2 separate regions of the Homo sapiens genome follow, and region 2 is linked to region 1. Evidence: promoter capture Hi-C in human tissues and cell types (Jung and others, 2019). All regions are on one chromosome and are shown on one strand. The core of a region is centred on a gene start or on the middle of the fragment in contact, and the rest is flanking DNA. Distances in the headings are between cores, read along the strand shown. Region 1 holds the start of WFDC6 (WAP four-disulfide core domain 6). Region 2 overlaps LOC107987282 (a long non-coding RNA gene).

Region 1 (3,225 bases), core at 413-2,912:
ACGGCTTCCAGCTTCATCCATGTCCCTGCAAAGGACGTGATCTCATTTCTTTTTATGGCTGCATAGTATTCCATGGCATATATGTACCACATTTTCTTTATCCAGCCTATCGTTGATGGATATTTGGTTTGATTCCATGTTTTTGCTATTGTAAATAGTGCTGCAGTGAACATACACATGCATGTATCTTTATAAAAGAATGATTTATATTCCTTTGAGTGTATACCCAGTAATGGGATTGCTGGGTCAAATGGTATTTCTGGTTCTAGATCTTTCAGGAATTGGCACACTCTCTTCCACAATGGTTGAACCAATTTACATTCCCAACAGTGTAAAAGCATTCATGTTTCTCCACAGCTTTACCAGCATCTGTTGTTTCTGGACTTTTTAATAATCACCATTCTGACTGGCATGAGATGGTATCTCATTGTGGTTTTGATTTGCATTTCTCTGATGATCACTGGTGTTGAGCTTTTTTTCATATGTTTGTTGGCCGCATAAATGTCTTCTTTTGAGAAGTGTCTGTTCATGTCCTTTGCCCACTTTTCAATGGGGTTGTTTGTTTTTTTTCTTGTAAATTTGTTTAAGTTCCTTGTAGATTCTGGATATCAGACCACAAATTTTCTTAATCTGTCTCCAGTGATGGGAAAGCTAAGCTATTTGTCCACTGATTCCCAACGCCCACTGGATGCCAGGGATACTAAATCCCTCGCTCTTTCAAACTGTTATACTTGCAAGCTATACAAGCTCCCTGGGGGCCAGAGAAAACCCACAGCAGAAAATTAGGGACTGATGCTAGAGGTAGGAGGCTGTCAATGTGCATTGGCTATTATTCGGCCATAAAAAGGAATGAACTTCTCACTCACCACTGATGACATGCCTTGCTGCACACACACCCTGCTGCCACCCTGCAGAAATGCTTCCATTACCCACAGTCCTTTGCCAGATGGAACTGATGCCCAGGTAACTGGCTCCTCACCTCCTTCGGGCTTATACCAAGGATATAAAACTTGGTACAGATGCTCAAGCGTTAATGCTTCAGGGTGTGACTTTTAATCCAATGCTGTAGCTGTGACAACAGGGAAAAACGGAGAACAGAGTTGGAGAAGTCCCAAAGTAATGAAAGAAGTTATTTACTGTTGCAAAATCAAACGACTTAAAGGATAAATGTAACTGATCTTTACATACGAAAGAAGAGAGAGGGAAGTGAAGGGCGGGGAGAAAGAGACTCAGACAGACAGAGACTCCCTGAGAAAAAGACAGGCACAGAGTAAAAGACATACAGATGCACAGAAAAGAGAAGAAACAGAGTGAGAAAAATAAAACATAAGAATAGACATGTCAGGAGAAGAGTGAAATTAGAAAGAAGGAAGAGAGCTAGCATACTGTTAACCTGCAAACTCCCCCTGGGAAATGGAAGACTCTGGAGTTAAACCTCCCCTTCTGCTAAGGGAGCCTGGAAAGCCCAAGACAACATGTGCCCTCTTTCCCTGGTAGACCAGAAAGCCTCAGATTGCTGAGGATTAGGAGCCACCTATCCCCCAGTGTAGGTACCAGGTAGTCCCACTGATGGCCTCAGGGATCTGGTGTTCCTGATCGGGGAGTCTGGCTGGCTTGTCTCCAGGGCTGTCTCTTAAGGTGCTGGGCCACACCGGGGCAGGCAAAGTGCAGATGTAGGAGCTGCTGAGGAGCAGTTCTTAGTTTTGGTGCCATCAACCAGGCCAGTACTTCCTAAAATGGGACTCTCAGGACTTCTGCCAATCCTGGTACCATTCATCCTTTTGGGGGACATCCAGGAACCTGGGCACGCTGAAGGCATCCTTGGCAGTAAGTATTGGGAACTCCGTCCTTGCAATGGGGAAAGGAAACTCAGTGGGGAGGAAGGAACAAAGAATAATTTTGCAGCTGAGAAATTATTTTCTCCACCTCTGCCTGGAATTCCAGGTGGGAAAGAGGGGAGCTATTTGAAGTCTCTTGGTAAGAGACTCCCTTGGTGAATACAGGCATCCAAATCTGTGGCAAGTGACTCCTTGCTGCCATTCCAAAGAGTTCTTCCTGGAGGTGCCTGGACCTAGAGCTCATGAAATGAACTAAGAAGGAGTAGTAAGCCCAAGGAAGTCTCCCACAAGAAAAACAGGCTGCTCCCCACAACACCACCTGTGTCAACTTCCAAATGTTCTCATTGCAGCCCCCACACCCATACCCACAGAGGACCCTGGTCTTTGGGTTAAAGAATGGTCTCCAGAAGTCCCTTGGAATGCTGAAATGTGAAGACTCACAATTAGCAGCTAACTGTACTGGGCACTGAAAATTAGTGGTTGAAAGTGAGCACTCAGGAGCCACACATTGTAGGTTCAAACCTGGCTCCACCCCTGAGTAGCTGTGTGATCTTGGGCAAATTCACATAATCTCCTTATGCTTCCAATTCTTCTGTTTACAAAATGTGAATATTAAGAGTACTTACCCATAGATTTGTAATGAGGATTAAGGAGAAAAGGCAGCTCACAGTAAGTGCTTCATCCATATTACTCATTGTTACGTTACATTGCCCCAGGCAGTTTGACGATGGCTTGTCAAACTGTGTTGCTGGTTAGTCTTCAAAGCAACCCTATGGGCAAATGAGGAAATCAAGGCTCAGAGAGAGTGCCTGGCACACCAAGCGTCTCACAGAATTCAAAAGCCCAGCTATCTGATGCCAGAAATGTTAATCTCAATCATCGAGAGCCACAGCACCTCCTGGGGGAGCAACCAAGCACAGCAAGGCTGAGTGACCAGAACAGTCTTAGAGGAATGCGTCTTTCTCTCAGGAATCTCATAGATGGTGCGGGTAGGGGGTAGGGGTTGGTTTAGGCATCCGATGGTGAGTTGTTATGGGGTTGGGGATGTGAGCAGTGTTGTGAAATTCCTGAGCCCCCTGAGGGCCACTACCTTCTGGGGATAGGTGAAGTGGAAACAAAGTTCTCTAACTCTGGAGGGGTGCCCTGGTCTCGGGGAGGGGGAGCACTGGCTCCTTTAAGGCCTTGAGGGAATATATCTTCCCCTCCCTTAGAGCCGTGTCCCAAAATCAAAGTGGAATGCGAAGTGGAAGAAATAGACCAGTGTACCAAACCCAGAGATTGCCCAGAAAACATGAAGTGTTGCCCGTTCAGCCGTGGAAAGAAATGTTTAGACTTCAGAAAGGTAACTCAGATGCTTCCTAAATTACCCAGTGCCCTCACCTCCTAT
Region 2 (3,225 bases), core at 294-2,793, 48 kb after region 1:
CCTTATTCTCTGTGCCCATGCTACCTCTCTGACTTCAACTCACCTCAGGCTCCTGACCACTCATTCACCCCAGCCATGCCAGCCTCCTGGATGATCCCCAACACCCTGAGAACACTCTGACCTCAGGTCCTTTGTTCTGGAACTCTCTTCTCTCTAAATTCCTCTTCTCATGGGTTGTCACGCAGCTCATGTCCTCCTTCACTGAGTTCACTACTTGAATAATACTTTAAGACCTTCCCTGACTACTTTGCAAAGTAATCACCCCCATCTCTACCCCACCCCCAGACTCACTATTCCTCTTACCTGTGTATTTCTCCATAACTTTTCCTCCACCTAACATGTTATATATGTGTTAGTTCATTTATTTATTGGCTATCCTCTCCACCGCACACACACACACACACACACACACACACACACTCTTTTCCTTCTATCAAATCCCCACCACCTAGAATAGAACACATAGTAAGTGCTTTATAAATATTGAATGAGTGAATGCCTCTGCTGATGTTGTTTCTGGGGCAGGACCTTCCCCTCCCTGACTGGTCTGTCTTTAGAACTTTATTTTCTAAGCTCCAGCTCACTCATGTAACTTCTTACTATCGCTCCAACCCCAAACCTGCACTTTCCTGCAGAGAAGATGTCTGTTTCCATGTAGGTATTACCATACATGGCTTCCTGGGCTGGGGATGGCCTTTAGAGGCATCTGCAAAGCAGTTTGCCATCGGAAATGGGAGAAAATAAGTGCGGGAAGAAGCCCTGCCCTGACGTCTGGAGGGGCAGCTGGGCTGAGTGGTTCTGTGAGGGGCCTTGAGGTTGGCTGTCCCATCTCGATCCACCTGTTTACTGGGATTCCTGGGCCCTGGGAGCTGTTCTCCTGGCCAAAACTAAGCTTTGCTGTGGTCTGCCTATATCAAGTGTGGCCCATCAAGGCCTGGAAGAGGGGGAAGAGACCAGTCTGGGACCCTGTCCTTTTTCCTTCCCCCTTTCCAATCACAAATCTTCAGAGTCCCCAACCTACAGCATTCACTTGGCTGCAAAAGTTGATCAAAGAATGATCGTAGGGCTTCCGCCTTGCCTGGCCCCCCTTGCACGCTGCAGGTCTGTGTCAAGCCATGGACACAGCTCTCTGTTCCGGAGGATGGAGTGTGTTAAAATTGTTAAGAGTAAGGCCTACTTTAAGAGATACAGATGACATTTAGAAGACCAGTGGGTTAAACTGATTACTATGCTCAGACACACTTGGTAATCCAGGATGAAAATAAGTAGAACACACCAAAATTCAGGATAGTTCATGCAACTAACAGAGAGATCATTTGTCATATGGTTTTTGCCCACACAGAAGGGAATATGATTGTCTGCACAGCATATGTTCATGAATGTCTAAAGTGTAGCATGAAGGTTGGCCAGCCAGATTATGATGCAGCACATTGTACTGGCCTGTGCTGACCCGAAGGCCCCTCAATAGTCTTGGCATGGACAACACCTATGAAGGTCAAGTGGAGGTGAGCAGAGATGGGTATCACATGGGAAGCATTGATGGTTACTTGGTGCCTTCACTTGCTACTTGCCAGAACTACCAACGGAAATAAAGGTAGGGGGGCCCTGAAGGGAGGTGTGGATTGAGGTTTTCTATCCCTCACAGTTACCAAACAATTCCCTGGTTCCAATTCAGAAAGCAGGGAGTTCAATGCAGAAGCACATCCTGGGTCAGAAGATCGCAGATTATATGCATTACCCAATGTAAGAAGATGAAGATGTTTACAAGAAACAATTTTCTCAATACATAAAGAACAACATAACTCCAGTCATGACGGAGAGACATGTAAGAAAGCTCATGATGCTGAACAAGAGAATCCAGTTCACGAGAGGAAGCCTGGGGAAGAAGTTAAGAAAAGGTGGAACCATCCCAAGACGTCCCCTGTCCAGAAGAAAGACTGAGTAGCTCAGAAGGCAAGTTTTCTAAGAGCTCAGGAGCAGGCTGCTGAGCGCTAAGCCAAACAACTATTTTCTTGTCTTTTCTTTTTCCTTTTTCTTTTTTTTTTTCAGAGACAGAGTCTCGCTCTGTCACCCAAGTCAGAGTGCAGTGGCACAATCATAGCTCACTGTAGCCTCCAACTCCTGGGCTCAAGCAATCCTCCCCCACTTGGCCTTCCAAGTACTTAGGAATATAGGCACGTTCCACCACGTCTGGCAAATAGTCATTTTCTATAAGATTATTCAGATAAAAACAATAAACTTATTGACCAAGCAGCTTAAAAAAGAAAATTAAAGGAAGGGTCTCAGCCAGAGGTTCTGCCTCGTCTAACCCACCCCTGCTTTCTTACCTGCCCCATCCCACCTCTCAGTCCTCCTTCCCTGGTAGCTTCTTCCTGTGCATTACTGAGATCCCTGGCAACTTCCACCTCATCTTCTGCAGGAGGCCTCTGGGCTAGGGACCCCTTGAAAAAGCTTTACCCCCTCTTAAGCTTCTGGTGGAGGGCCTGAGGTCCCATCTCCTTTGGACCCCTGCTCAGGGTCCCCTGTGCAGTCTTCTTACTCAGTAAAACCTCAACTGCCAGGTCTGACTTTTCACCATTAGCATTTTATTTCTTGAGTTAAATCAGGGGTAGCAAATCTATCTATCAACCCCAATCAATGGGCAGCTGTAGCAGCTGCCTGGAGCCCTGTGCTGAGGGCTCTGTGGCCACACATGGGCTAATGGAAAGGAGCAGCAATCATGTGATATGGGTGCTGGTGGAAGAAATGATGGCATGTGGACACCTTTGCCATCCCTGGGTTAGACATCACCCTGCCTGGGCCACTCTTTCAGAATGCAAACCTGTAGAAGGACAGGAGAAAGTGGAGCTAGTGGTAGTCACACACCGAGTTCCCAGCAACTCTTCCCAACCCATCACTGGATGCCTCTGTTTCTGCCTAAAAGGTTGGGGAGCCCCGAGCATGGACAAAAATAGAAATCAGAAAGTGGGGAGCTGGGAAAATCTACACTGCCATCTCTGGCCAAGGGGCTATCATATGCACAAAGCATCCCCACTCCCACCAGGAGGCTCTATCAGTTTGTGCCCCTGGGAGTGAATGGAGATGCCCTGGGGCCTTGTCTGGTCCCTGGTCCCTGGTCCCACAAGAAGATGAGGAAGATAAAGCCTGATAGACACCAAGCCAGGCTGGCCAGATATTCCAGACAATGTCACTGAAACTTTCCAGATCTCTCATGTTCCACGGTGG

What was found. The method cuts DNA at HindIII sites, captures the fragments that hold promoters and counts their contacts. A contact is called where the count stands out against the background at its distance.
Region 2: a fragment that was not itself captured here is called in contact with the fragment with the promoter of WFDC6 in region 1 in 12 of the 25 tissues and cell types used here (H1 embryonic stem cells, IMR-90 fibroblasts, adrenal gland and 9 more).

What each region holds. Positions count from the first base shown.
Region 1 is chr20:45,537,919-45,541,143 of GRCh38, reverse strand. WFDC6 (WAP four-disulfide core domain 6) reads left to right here and starts at 1,662. Exons shown (of 3, transcript NM_080827.2): 1 at 1,662-1,827; 2 at 3,050-3,180. The coding sequence starts at 1,737. EPPIN-WFDC6 (EPPIN-WFDC6 readthrough) reads left to right here. Exons shown (of 5, transcript NM_001198986.2): 4 at 3,050-3,180. It overlaps EPPIN (epididymal peptidase inhibitor), which reads left to right. Exons shown (of 4, transcript NM_020398.4): 4 at 1-518. It overlaps LOC107987282 (a long non-coding RNA gene), which reads right to left. Exons shown (of 4, transcript XR_001754641.3): 3 at 2,465-2,608; 4 at 757-1,069. It also overlaps the pseudogene HSPD1P21. The HindIII fragment of the contact is 28,992 bases long and covers 1-3,225 here.
Region 2 is chr20:45,489,588-45,492,812 of GRCh38, reverse strand. All of the region lies in intron 1 of LOC107987282 (a long non-coding RNA gene), which reads right to left. It also overlaps the pseudogene RPL5P2. Among named protein-coding and RNA genes, the nearest start is that of WFDC2, 21 kb to the right of the region's middle. The HindIII fragment of the contact is 6,084 bases long and covers 1-3,225 here.